Regions from separate parts of the Homo sapiens genome. Here regions 1, 2, 4 and 5 are each linked to region 3. Evidence: promoter capture Hi-C in 16 types of primary human blood cells and fetal thymus (Javierre and others, 2016). All regions are on one chromosome and are shown on one strand. Each heading gives the region's core, a stretch centred on a gene start or on the middle of the fragment in contact. The rest is flanking DNA. Distances are from core to core; before and after follow the strand shown. Region 1 overlaps NCEH1 (neutral cholesterol ester hydrolase 1). Region 2 has its middle 5.1 kb from the start of ECT2. Region 3 holds the start of FNDC3B (fibronectin type III domain containing 3B). Region 4 overlaps LINC02068 (long intergenic non-protein coding RNA 2068). Region 5 overlaps NCEH1 (neutral cholesterol ester hydrolase 1).

Region 1 (2,700 bases), core at 170-2,669, 660 kb before region 3:
ATGGAGCATCGGAGAGGAAGGAGTCAAAGATGACTCCTGGGACAGATTCTGGAATAGCTGGGTGAATGGGGACCATGACCCTGATTTGGGAGCAAGAGCAGATCTGAGGGTGAAGATATAGAGTTTGGGACCCTGTTTTGAAGTGTCAGTGGACTAGTCCAAGGATGGCTGATCATAAACAGCTGCATATACAGATCCAGAGCTCAGGAGACAGAGCTGGGCTGGTGATATGGATTTGGGAGTAGTCAGCAAATGGATAGTGGCAGAAGTAGTTGAAATGAATGTGTTTGGAGTGACAGTAAGATCTGGAGGATTTTACCAAGGGTGCCCCTCAGGGACACCAGTGGCAAGTGGAAAAAGAGGCTATCCCTGAGAGAAATGAGACCTTAACATAACTTTTTAGTATACCTCATATTTATAAAGTACTCTAGATTTTATGAAGGTTTTTACTAATATCACCTCATTTCATTTTTTTTTCAATAAATAACTGGTTGCCATTGTTATTTCCATTTGTCAGCTAAGGGAACTTGAGGTTCAGAAAGGCTCAAGGACACCATCAAGATCGTATGATCAGGGCCAGGCACGGTGGCTCACACATGTAATCCCAAGGCAGGAGACCCCTTGAGGCCAGGAGTTCAAGACCAGCCTTGGCAACAAAGTAAGACTGTCTCTACAAAACATAGTTAGCCAGATGTGGTGGCACATGATCTCAGCTACTGGGGAGACTGAGGATCTCTTGAGCCTAGGAGGTGAAGGCTGTATGATCACACCACTACACTCTAGCCTGGGTGACAGAGCAAGACCCTGTCTCTTAAAAAAATTTTTTAAATTTAAACATGTGATCAGTTATGCTGGCGAAATGGGAACTGCAATAGAAATTCATGGACTCTTAGTTTCATGCCCTCCCTGCTGGGCTATGCTGTGAGGACACTCATGATAACTTAGTCACTAGTGAATTTTTTGTCCTGATTTTTTTTTTGAGCTCCCACAATTAATCTATATCAGTGCTTCTTCTTATTTTTTGTGTCATAGAAACAATTACATTTGTATAGTATACTGGGGATTCTGGAAGCAATTTTGGGGAAATCTGTATGAGCTTGAATAACAGAATTCACAAGATTTATAAAGAGTTACACAAATGGTTCTCAAATAGAATGCCAACTCTGATGCCAATTATTCAACTCTGTATAGTTATACAAAATGGCTTTAAGTTTTTACCTCTATAAAATATTTAAACATTGATAGCTAGTGCCCCATCTGTAATCCATTTGTAGAATACCTATTGGGAAGCTCACCTTTCTCCAGTTTGTAACTTTTAAAATATATGTCTGTTATCATTGTTATTAAACACAGATAGATAGTCCCCAAGTTACATGTATTTAGGTAGCCGTATAATTTATTGTCCAAACCAGGACATTTTTGAGAGTAGCAGGGACTGCTATTAATAATCATGCTAGGTCAACAGTGTTTTTTTCTTTGTTTTGAGACAGGGTGTCTGTGGCGCAGGCTGGAATGCAGTGGTATGATCGTGGTTCACTGCAACCTCTGCCTCCCCAGGTTCAAGCAATCTTCCCACCTCAGCCTCCCAAGTAGCTGGGACCACAGGCATACACCACCATGCCCAGCTGATTTTTGTATTTTTTGTAGAGATGAGGTCTCCCTATATTGCCAGGGTGGGTCTTAAACTCCTGGGCTCAAGTGATTCTCTTGTCTCAGCCTCCCAAAGTGCTGGGATTGCAGGTATGAGGCACCATGCCTAGCTCAGTGCAATGGTTTTAAACCAGAGTGATTCTCAGTCAAACCTGGACGGATGCTCAGGCTGCATTTATTTGACTTGCACACATTTGGCCTAATCAAGTCAAGGCTGTGAAATGATCCCTCGTTCCCAGTCCTGAGTGCTCCAATCTGACTGTTAATCCTCCAGTTACCACTCCTCCACCCCACCCGCACTTCCTATCCCCTGTAGAATAAAAGTGCTAAGTTCCTTGGCTGGCACTTGGTGCTTGCTACAACCTGGCACCATTTTGCTGACTGCAGCCTCACTGTGTCATGGATGACAGTTCAGCTCGTGAATCTGCTTACGCTTCTCCTGTTGTCCCCTCTGTCCCAGATGCCCTCCCACCCTTTTACTTTGGGCAATATCCCACGCATCGTTCAATACCAACTCAGAAATCATCTCTTTTGAGAACTTCCCCGTCTCTTTCCCTCTCACTGCCCTTCCTTGGCCTTAATTTCTCTCTCAACACTCTGCTAGCGTTTTGGTTTTCTTTTATGGCCCTTAGATGTTGCTTATGTTGCTACTTATGTACAGGCTCCCCACCAAATCATAAATTTTCTCTCCTATCATTGACATAATTTTCCTCTTACTGCTTTAGGACTTTTATTTTTGTTTGAAGACCATTCACGATAGAGAGACTAAAGAGAAATTAGGAATTCATGGTTCTGCTTCCATTATCACTGTGTTACCGCGTCTGTCGCAAGGGGCAGGCCCTGTGCTTCCACGTGCTTCTGACTCTGAATGTAGCCAAAAATGGTTTTGTGTTGTCCTTCACAACTGTGTTTTGCAAGCCTCGCTGTTTTCTGGGTTTCTAACTTCCTCATGTTTTAATAGATTTATGCTTGTTTTCAAATTTGTCATGAATTATGTGTCTGTTTCTGACTAAATGTTAATTATAGGACATCTCCTTAAAAGAACACTGG
Region 2 (2,700 bases), core at 100-2,599, 710 kb before region 3:
GAATCAAAATATGTAAAAATTACTACATCCATATAAATTTCTGATAAATAGCAGTATCATTAAATAAATAGAACAGTTTCCAAATTCAGAAGACTAGTTCTCTGTCTTTCTTCCTTTGATGAACCAGCCAATTAGATTCACAGTTCCTTGAATTTTTGAATCCCAAAACCTCAATTCAACACTTATTTTGATGGACAATATCCTAAATGTTTTACACTCAATTGCTTTAGCTCTCAAATGTTAACTTCAAACATTCCATTCTGATTACGAAATTTTCTTCCCATCTCTTAATCCCTTTCACACATGAATCAAGGATATTTAGCCTTCAGTTCCCCCTAATGATAGCACCCCTTTCTAACCCATGGTCATTAATTCAGCTGCTGAAAGACCACCACTTTCACTGTCTTACTTCTCTTCCTGCCTCTCTGATGTTTCCTTCTCGGTTTCCTTTGCTTAGATATTATTGTTCCCCAAAGTATTATTCTCAGGCAACCCCCTTTCCCTAGGTGAACTCATTCATTCCCAGGGATTTAAGTTATATGCATATGCTTCCACGTCTCTCTTTCTTGCCAGACCTTGTTGAAACCCACTCTATAATGCCAGTTGTTTACCAATTTTTTCTGCTCCTGTGACCCACAATCCTATCAAACTCTTCATGTGCTAAAGTGAATTCTTCTTTTCCCCAGCTCTCCATCCTTTATCTCCTCTGCCTCTTGTATTTCTCTCCTGATTAGTAGAATCCCCATTCACTCTGACTCCCAAGTTGGATCTCTCAAAGTCATCTTCCTGTTCCCTTCCTCCTCTTGGTCTCCCTGCACCACCAACCCCAACACCATTCTCCCAATTTGACCTGAAAAATATTTCTAGAATCTGAATCTTCCCCCTTCAGTCCACTGCCCGAGTTTAGGCCTTCATTATCTCTCATCCAAACTATGACAAGGACAGCCTTCTAGTTGGTCTTTTGGGAACTAATCACTCTCTCTACTTCCAGTCATCAGTCACAGAATTATCTTCATTTAGAAAACTAAATATGACTATGTATCCCCCTCCTTAAAAACAAAACTAAACCAAAAGACATGGTTTCTTCACTGCTCACAGAATAAAGTCCAGTATAAGATGGACTTCCCAAGATGACTGTAACCTAATTTTCTATCACCCTCATCCCTACCACATACGCACCCTGTGTTCAGCCATACTGAACTTTTCGTCAGTCCACAAACATTCCAGGCGATTTCCTAAATCCCTACCTTTGAATATTCTTTTCCACCTGCCCTGCCTCCCTCTGTCTGCATGAAAATTCCTATTCATTCAGGACCCCACTCAAGCATCACCTCAATGAAGCCTTCTTTGACTATCCCATGGAGAGTAAACTGCTTCTTCTGATTTGTATGAGCTTAATACTGTTTATACCTCAGTATGGCTCCTGTCACCTTGTATTGGAAATATTGGTTAACATGGCTGTCTCCTCTATTAAAATATGAGCTACTCAAGAATAGGGAAAAGAACCATATCCTTTCCATCTTTGTACCCTGGCACTTGTGCTCTCAAAAAATATCTATGGAGGCTGGGCACGGTGGCTCACCCCTGTAATCCCAGTACTTTGGGGGCTGAGGTGGGCGGATCATTTGAGCTCAGGAGTTTGAGACCAGCCTGTGGCAACATGGAGAAACCCCATCACTACCAAAACTACAAAAAATTAGCTGGGCATAGTGATGCACTTCTGTGGTCCCAGCTGCTCAGAGTGGGGGGATGGGGTGGGAAGGTCTCTTGAGCCCAGGAGGCAGAGGTTGCAGTGAGCTGAGATCAAGCCACTACACTCTAGCCTGGGCAGCAGAGCACGACCCCATCTCAAAAAAAAAAAAATTATGGAAAAGAGGAAAGAAGGGAAAATAACCAGATTTTTTAGTAGTTTGATTTCTGTCCATATCTTATTTCATGTCAGAGGCTGGCTGGGGTTTCTGCATCTTTTTTTTCCATCGGTAAATTAGCAGCCATGAATACTCCTTCTCTACTTGTTACTGTTGCTTTATCAATTGTTCATGATATCAAAATAGGTCAGTAAGTTCATGTTGACTTATTACTGCATATTTCTACTTATTAACTTGGTTACGGTTTTGTGTATAAATTGGAATAAATTATCTGCATACTAAATATTAGAACATGCTTTCTAACCCTATGTGTTTCTCTTGCTCTTTTTTTTTTTTTTTTTTTGAGGTGAGATGGAGTTTGCTCTGTCACTCAAGCTAGAGGGCAGTGGCACCATTATAGCTCACTGCAGTCTCAAACTCTTGGGAACTCCTGGGCTTAAGCAATCCTCCCACTTGAACCTCCCGAGTAGCTGGGACTATAGGTGTGTGCCACCATACCCACCTAATTTTTTTTTTTTTTTAATTTCAAGAGATGGTGTCTCGCTGTTTGGCCCACACTAGTCTCGAACTTCTGGGCTCAAGCAATCCTCCCACCTCAGCCTCCTGAGTCACTGGAATTACAAGGCATAAGCCATCACACCTGGCTAACCCTATGTTTCCTAAAAATATGTGATAACTCTTTCCCCATGATTATGGGGTATCTTAGCCCATTTCATTGCTATAAAGGGATACCTAGCTGGCCATACTGGCATGTGCCTGTAATCTCAGCTACTCAGGAGGCTGAAGTGGGAGGATCACTTGAGCCCAGGAGTTCAAGGCTGCAGTGAGCCAT
Region 3 (2,700 bases), core at 124-2,623:
CCAAAAGCTCCAACTCCGACCGCGCACTCCTGGAAGCCTCCCCGCCAAAGGCGCCGCCGGGCGGCGCAGCCCAGTCTCCCGAGACGGCGGGCCCGGGTCCTCCGGTTCCCACGGGACGCCGGGACCCGGACCTCTGGGAAAGTTCGCGGGCACAGCCCGAGGCCCCACTTTCTGCCGAGAGTGACAGGCCCTTCCCACGCCTGCCGGCCCCAGCCCAGCCGCGGGCACCAGACGGTCCGCGCGGCCCCTCCTGGCCGCCTCGGGGCGCAGATTCCGCCCGCCCGCCCTATCCCCGGCCGAGGCGCCCCTCGGGGTGACCGACTGACCGGAGCTCCGCTGGCCCACACACCGGGTCGCCCGCTCCTTCCCGCCGCGCCCCGCTCCCCCGCCCGAGCTTCCAGCCGCCGGCTCGCCAAGTCCGGCCGCGGCCGCCGGTTACCGCCCCCAGCCCGGGGGGAGCCCGGGGGGCAGGACGGGGAGGAGGACGTGGCGTGCTCGGAGGTGGCCAGCAGCGGGGCGGGGAGTGTCCCGGAGAGGCCCAGCCGGGGACGGGGGGGCCAGGCCGGCGCGGGCTCGGGACCCTCCCCGCGAGCATCCCCGGGTTCGAGGCCCCCGACCGCCCCCGCCGGCGCGGAGAGGCGGCCCCAACTTCCAGCCCCACTTCGCACTCCCGCCCTCTTCCCTCCACCATATGGAAATCTACAGCCTCAGAAAGTGACACGTCGAAGATTCCTCGGCCTCGCCGCCCGCCCTCCCCCTCCTGGGCAGCGTTCCTGCCGCGGAGATTCCGGGAGGGGGAGCGGATTCCTCGGACAAAATCTGCTGGGAAGGCTGGGGGTGGGGGGAGGCCGCGAGCCACTGCCCAATTTTTTTTAAGAGGAATCTACCCGTTTCTTTCACTCCTCCAAACCCTGAGGCAGGGGGCACAGGCGGGGGACCCCAGCCCAGCAAGGCGGGGGCCGCCCCCTCCCGGGTCCCGTGTTCCCGGGGTGCCCAGGCGAGCACGGGGCGCCCCAGCACTCCGGCGCCAAGTTTTTGCCGGGAAGCCCAGGGCGCTCCCGGGACAGGGACGCACTTTGGCGGACTCGGCGTCAGGCCGGGGCTTTCCAGTGCACCGGGACCCGGCGATCGCGCTCGGGGTCCCGGTCTCCTCTAGTCCCCGGCTCTTGCACGCCTTACCTTCCCTAGGGCTGAAACGCGGGGCTCTGGGCGCGCCACACACCGGGTCGCCCACGCCTTCCCAGCCGGCAGCCTGGAGGATCCCTGCCGCCCCCTTCGCTGCTCCCGCCGCCGCCGCTCTCCTCCTCCAGCCGCCGCCGCCGCCGCTCAAATAACTACCAGGAGGGTTTGATGGGGGATTCCGCCATGTCAATGATGTCGGGACCACATGGGGATTTGGGGCCCGCCCATTACCGTAAACCGCCGAATATACCGGCCGCCACAATCGCAGACTCGCAGAAGCTGTTGTCCCCCGGCCCTGCCTAGCTAAGCAGAAACTCCTTTTGGTTCAGCCAGACTAAAGAAACCTGAGGCTTAGGGAACTAACAACTCCTGAATGGCGAGGGCTGCGCGTTCTGCAGATCGCCAAAGTAATATAAAGGCAATGTTTACTCAGTGATAATTAAGCCTAAAACTGACTTTTTTTCATTTACACATATATTTCGCTTTTTGTTGTTGTTAACCCCCACAGCAACCTTGTGAGCTATATTACTCCCACATTTCCCACAGCATTTTATTCATACAACTAACATAGTATGAGCAATTTTTATTATACTTAAGTTAAAATCTCTCTTTCCTCTTTCTTTTTGTTTTTTGTTTTTTGTTGTTGTTGTTGTTTGTTTTGGGGACTGCAGGCACGGGGCAGGCATGAGCCACCGCACCCTTTTTTTTTTTTTTTTTTTTTCCTTTTTTGGAAGAGAGGGGGTCTCAATAGGTTGCCCAGGCTGGTCTGGAACTCTGTCGCTCAAGTGATTCTCCCGCCTTGGCCTCCCAAAGTGTTGAGATTACAGGCGTGAGCCAACTCACCCAGCCTTATTTCACAATGCGTTTCTCAGGGACAAAGACTGTTTCTTACTTTTATCTTTATATCCGTAAAATATAGCACAGTGCAAGGACCACAATAGGACTCATTAAATAACTGTTGAGTTCATATTAAGTCAAATGTAATGTATTTCTGTTGTACAGGCTCTAAGAGGTTAACAGACTGCATCCCATGCCACCCCTCAGATTATTCAGGAGACAAGAGAGCAAAAGTTAGCCTAGAGAAGCCCCTTCCATCCATAGCTGTCCAGGTATTCTGAATAGCTACATTCAGCCTCAACTATTAAGCTACAAAGGAGCATTCAGGGAGTCACTAGAGACAATGTATTACTTTTGTTAACCTAAAAAATAATAATAGCAGTACATAATACTCTGTTAAAGTCTAAAGAACACTAAGAAATAGCTCCTTCCTTCCCTTGTTCATTTGCCATTCTTTTGGGGAGATTTTAGCCTTTTTTTTTTTTTTTTGGAGGCAATGGTGAGTCCAGAGAAATGGGGACCTCTCTCCTAAATGGCTTATTTACTGTGGAGCTCCTCAAAGGGGAACTTGAAGCCATCTTTCTATAACATAACTCCAATTCTAGGTCATAGTCCTGCATGAGAAGCCGGGGCGGGGGGTAGGCAGTAGTTCCTTAGTGCCAATAGGGTACAATCCAATAG
Region 4 (2,700 bases), core at 84-2,583, 540 kb before region 3:
CTGATTTTATTTAAAAACAAGCTGGGAAAAATACCTGCAAAGGACATATTTGATAAAGAACTGTTATCTGAAATTTACAAAGAACTCTTAAAACTCAAAAATAAGGAAACAAATAACTAAATAAAATAGGCAAAAGACCTCAACAGATACCTCATCAAATAAGATATCCCAATGTCAAACATGCATATGAAGAGATATTCAACACCATATGTCATTAAGGAATTGCAAGCTAAAACAGCAATGAGATGCTACTGCATGCCTGTTAGAATGGCCCATATCCAAAACACTAATGACACCAAATGCTGACAAGATTGTGGAGCAATGTTGGTGGGAAGTCAAAATCGTACAGACATTTTGAAAGACAGTATGATAGAGGGAATGCTCACGTCTCCCTAAAATTCATATGTTGAAATCCTATCCCCCATGATGATGGTAGGGAGTGGGATCTTTGGGAGTGAATAGATCATGAGAGCAGGGCCCTCATGAATGGAATTAGCAGCCTTGTAAAAAAAAAAAAAGAAGACCCAAGAGCTAGCAAGTTCTTTCTGCCATATTAGGACACAGCCAGAAGACACCATCTATGAACCAGAGAGCAGGCTCTCACCCAATACCAAATCTGCCACTGCTTTGATCTTAGACTTCTCAGCCTCCAGAACTGTGAGAAATAAATTTCTGTTATTTTGGTATTTGTTAGCTACCCAGTTTATAGTATTTTGTTATAGCAGCCCAAACAGACTAAGAGAGACAATTTGGCAGTTTCTTATAAGTCTAAACATGTTCTTACTATGTGAGTCAGCAATCATATCCTTGGAATTTGCCCAAAGGACTTGAAAACTCATGTCCACACAAAAAGTTGCATATGGATGTTTACAGCAGCCTTATTCATAACTGTGAAAACTTGGAAGCAACCAAGATTTTCTTCAGTGGACGAGAGGGTAAAAAAAGTGTGGTACATCCAGACAATTGAATATTATTCAGCACTAAAACCAAATGAGCTATCAAGCCATGTAAAGACACGGAGGAAATTTAAGTGCATATTGCCAAGTGAAAGAAGCCAATCTGAAAAGGCTACATACTATATGATTCCAACTATATGCCATTCCGGAAAAGGCAAAACTAGGGAAACAGTAAAAAGATGAGTAGTTTCCAGGAGTTAGTGGGGAGACAGAGATAAATAGGTGAAGCACAGGGGATATTTAGTGCATCGGAACTATTTTGTATGATACTACAATGGTGGATACATGTCATTAGATATTTATCAAAATCCATAAGATGACCAACACCAAGAGTGAAGCCTCATGCAAACTATGGACCTTGGGTGATAATGATTCATTATAACAAATGTGCCACTCTGGTGTGGAATGTTGATAGTGGGAGAGGCTAAGCAGTTGTAGGGGCAGGGAATATATGGGCACTCTATTTCCTGATCAATTTTTCTGTGCATCTAAAAATGAACCTAAAAAATAAGGTCTACTAAACAACAACAACAAGAGGTGACAGTTTAGTTGACTGTTTGCTATCACCTATCAAGGATCTTCCCTTCTCAGCCAGGATAGGAAGATTTCCACCCTCCTGTGATACATCTTGTCTTGTACAAATCCAATTTAGGGTTTGTCCCATGTAAAACTTCATTTCCATAGACTAACTTCTAGAATAAAGACTTCTTGAGTCATTCAGAAACCTAACTCAAACTGGCTCAATTGAATGTGAGAATGTATCAGTTTATGTAACTAAAAAGTCTAGGGACTAAGATAAGGCTGCATTCAGGCATAATTAAATCCAAGTACTTAAAAGATGCAGTCAGAAATCAATCTCCTCTCTCTCTCTGTCTCTCAGTCTTCCACTCCATCTCCCACCTCCATGTTGACCTCATTCTTATGAGACCTCTCTCCATGTGGTAACATATGGGTATCAGCATCTCTAGACTCACATTCTGCCACTTAAGCTATACTTAGAAACAATAATCTTCTTTCTCAGAAAAATTCAAGCTGCTACCTCGATTGATAAACTGCAGCCACTTGTGCATGGCTTAAACAACTTTAGTCCATTGTTTCCAAAATTATATTTGCATGTCACTGGTGCTCCCTGAGATGATCTGGTAGTAAGCAAACATTTATTATAATACATGCCAGGGGCTAGAGGGGAGGGACGGATAAATAGGCAGAACATGGAGGATATTTAGGGAAGTGAAATTATTCCGATATTATATTGGTGAATGCATGCTGTTTTACATTTGTCACATGTATAATTATGTGTAAATTTTTATGCATAATAAAAAATAAGTAGTGCCTCAAAATTTTTTTTCTTTTGCTTGGGATGAGGCTGAAATAGGAAGGAAAGTAGTATTCATTTTACAGGATTAGGGTGAGTTTCAGATATGGTGATCAGGCATGTTCATGATCATTTTGTACCTTTACGAATCGAATTATCAAACAAGACTTAACCTGTTCCATGTAGTTGAAGTGCTGTACAGGCAGAAAAAATCTAGTCACTGTTGTATACTGAGGGGAAAATCTTAGGTTAAGTCCCTCAAAGATTCTGGAAAAATTTCATATGGTAATTCATAAGGCAATTTTTGAAAGGAAGTCAATATGTCACAAATTGAATGTAACTTTGAAAATCTTTACCCTACTTTGGAAAAAAGTATCATTTTAGTATAACATAAAATGAACTACATGACTGTCCTCTCCATGGTTAAAT
Region 5 (2,700 bases), core at 56-2,555, 630 kb before region 3:
TTAGCCACCTTTCCCTTGCTTAATTTAGGTGCTCTTGTAAGAGCTCTTAGCTCAGCCAATTGAGCGCTTGTGTTTGGGGAGAGTGACTACTGCCTCTCCTGCTTTATGTACCTCTTGCTTCACTGGCTGTTTGCCGGCTAAGAGCTCCCCCTAGAGGACAGTGATCCTGCCACATTATGTGGGGTGTAAACAGTTAAATTATTTCCTAGGGTTAACTAGGAGGCTTTTCTGACTAGTAGAGCTACTATGACAATGGCTTGGAAGCATTTGTAAATAGGTCCTCCTAACCACAACTAAGGTTGAGAAAAATATTGGATTAGAGTTTTTCTTGAAATGCCCCTTATAGTTGCGCTATAGGAAGAGAGGAGGCCTGGCTTAGAGAGGAGAAAAGAGAGAGACTGGGTCTAGTGTTTAGAAGGAGGTCTGCTTCCTTTTCTTCAATGTCCAGTATCACCTGGGGCTCCTATGCTATGATGGCAGTTTGAGCTGCTGGAGCTGAGGTTTGGGCCCCAGGACCCATCAGTCCTGTGGGACCATCTGTGAGACTGGCTCTGAACCCAGTGACCTCCATATCTGGGGACAGTTCTGTCTCCACTGGTTTTTGCCACTGGATGGACAGGGTTGAGGTGGCTTCGTCTTGCTGCCTGGGCATTCCTCTTTAAAATACCCTGGCCTGCCACACTGATAGCAACTAATGGATGCATCTTGGGGCTCCTGGACTTTGCCAGCCTGCAAAGCTGCTGCTAGAGCCTTTGTCCTTCCCCTGAGCTTTCTCTCTTTCTTTTGGGCCTCCTCCTGGTCCCTATTATAAAAGACCGAAGTGGCCCCCTTCAGGAGGTTCTCTAAGGTGCTATTTGGTCCCATAGCTTGCTTCTGTAGTTTTCTTCTAATATTGGGAGCTGCCTGTGTAATAAAACTGTCCTTCAGGATGAGCTGTCTCTCCACTGAATCAGGGGATAAAAGGAAGAGTGTTCTATTAGTGCCTCTATCAGCCTTTCTATAAAGGCCACAGGATTCTCATCTGGCTTTTGGTCTATTATAGACAGTTTAGAGTAATTGAGAGGTTTGGCCCTGGTTTTCCATAGGCCTTCTAAAACGCGTATTAAAAAGGGCTTCCTGGCCAGGTGCGGTGGCTCTCACTGTAATTCCAGCACTTTGGGAGGCTAAGGCAGGCAGATCACCTGAGGTCGGGCGTTTGAAACTAGCCTGTCCAACTTGGTGAAACGGTACTCAACATGTAGGCAATTATAATGCAGTGGTAAGTATTTGTAGATCTAATACTTGGTGAAACTTGGTACTCAGCACTGTAGGCAATTACAATGTAATGGTAAGTATTTGTATATCTAAACATAGAAAAGGTACAGCAAAATATGATACAAAAGATTAAAAAATGCTACCCCTGTGTAAGGCACTTACCGTGGAGCTTGCAGGAGTAGAATTTGCTCTGGGTGAATCAGTGAATGAGTAGTAAGCAAATGTGAAGGCCTAGGACATTACTATGCATTACTGTAGGCCTTATAAATACTGTACACTTAGGTTACACTAAATTTGTTTTAAAAATTAAGTAATTGCACTACAATGTCACAATGACAACAATGCCACTAGGTTATAAGAGTTTTCCAGCTCCATCATAATCTATGGAACCACCCTCATATATGTGATCTGTTCTTGAGCAAAATGTCATCATGCAGCACCTGACTATATGTAACAAGTATGTGTGTGCCTGTGTGCATGTGTGTATGTATATATACATGCTACATTTATATACACCTGATATGTGCATGTGTAATTATATATGTAACAAGTATGTGTGTGCCTGTGTGCATGTGTGTATGTATATATACATGCTACATTTATACACACCTGATATGTGCATGTGTAAATATATATACACACATGTAGCAGGTGTATATATAGGTAGCATATATATATATTTGTATATATATCTATATATGTGTGTGTGTGTGTGTGTGTGTATGTGTATGTGTGTGTAGCAGCGGTTTTGTGCTAGAACCAAGAGCCTGGAACTGGTACAATGAAAATATTTTACCCGAAAGGTATGCTAAGTAAAAGTCCCAAGTTTCACACATTTTTGAGGATCAAAGTGAAGAACTCAAAGTGAATTATTAGGTAATCATATCTACTTCTTCCTAAACCCTCCATCTGATTCTGTGCTAAAATTTAATAAATACCAACTGATCTTTCCATCTCCATAAAATTCTTTGAGTTAACGAAATCCTACTTTCTGGTTTCTGAAGGATGGTATTCTGCAAATGTAAAAGTTTCCCTTAACCTCCAAAAAATAATTGGGTTAATCCAGCTACCACAAGTGTGAAATTGAGAAGCTGCTTGCTAAGATTGAATTTAATATTGTCACATGTCATCTGAGAGCTGCTTGTCTGATCATGTTGCCACTGGACAAAGTAAGCCTTACTACAAAGGATAAAAGAATGATTATTTCAATATCCAGTCATAGTTCATCATCAAACTCTGAGTAAAATGGAGAGAAAAAGACGTTTTATCTTATATGACTATGCATTTCTCTGGGAAGTCATTTATCTGGTTACTATCTAGGAGAGCAAAGATAATGGGAAAAATCTTCCATTATTCTCAACTATAATTTTAAATATGAAATTTTCATAAAATAGGTTTTTGGTTCTTTTAAAAGCCCTCAATATAAGAAAATGAAATATTAGAAAC

What was found. The method cuts DNA at HindIII sites, captures the fragments that hold promoters and counts their contacts. A CHiCAGO score of 5 or more calls a contact.
Region 1: a contact is called between a fragment that was not itself captured here and the fragment with the promoter of FNDC3B in region 3, in 1 of 17 cell types (monocytes). The highest score is 5.2, in monocytes.
Region 2: a fragment that was not itself captured here is called in contact with the fragment with the promoter of FNDC3B in region 3 in 1 of 17 cell types (fetal thymus); the score reaches 5.1 in fetal thymus.
Region 4: a fragment that was not itself captured here is called in contact with the fragment with the promoter of FNDC3B in region 3 in 1 of 17 cell types (neutrophils); the score reaches 5.3 in neutrophils.
Region 5: a fragment that was not itself captured here is called in contact with the fragment with the promoter of FNDC3B in region 3 in 1 of 17 cell types (fetal thymus); the score reaches 5.3 in fetal thymus.

The regions. Positions count from the first base shown.
Region 1 is chr3:172,698,645-172,701,344 of GRCh38, reverse strand. The region is part of intron 1 of NCEH1 (neutral cholesterol ester hydrolase 1); the gene reads left to right. Among named protein-coding and RNA genes, the nearest start is that of NCEH1, 11 kb to the left of the region's middle. The HindIII fragment of the contact is 5,162 bases long and covers 1-2,700 here.
Region 2 is chr3:172,744,235-172,746,934 of GRCh38, reverse strand. No RefSeq gene overlaps it. Among named protein-coding and RNA genes, the nearest start is that of ECT2, 5.1 kb to the left of the region's middle. The HindIII fragment of the contact is 7,459 bases long and covers 1-2,700 here.
Region 3 is chr3:172,038,251-172,040,950 of GRCh38, reverse strand. It overlaps FNDC3B (fibronectin type III domain containing 3B), which reads right to left and starts at 1,373. Exons shown (of 26, transcript NM_022763.4): 1 at 1,180-1,373. RefSeq lists silencers at 21-390, 451-700, 881-980, 1,121-1,300 and enhancers at 219-885, 886-1,553. The HindIII fragment of the contact is 7,479 bases long and covers 1-2,700 here.
Region 4 is chr3:172,581,015-172,583,714 of GRCh38, reverse strand. All of the region lies in intron 2 of LINC02068 (long intergenic non-protein coding RNA 2068), which reads left to right. Among named protein-coding and RNA genes, the nearest start is that of LINC02068, 13 kb to the left of the region's middle. The HindIII fragment of the contact is 2,991 bases long and covers 1-2,700 here.
Region 5 is chr3:172,670,783-172,673,482 of GRCh38, reverse strand. The region is part of intron 1 of NCEH1 (neutral cholesterol ester hydrolase 1); the gene reads left to right. All of the region lies in intron 1 of LOC124909457 (a long non-coding RNA gene), which reads right to left. Among named protein-coding and RNA genes, the nearest start is that of NCEH1, 39 kb to the left of the region's middle. The HindIII fragment of the contact is 8,224 bases long and covers 1-2,700 here.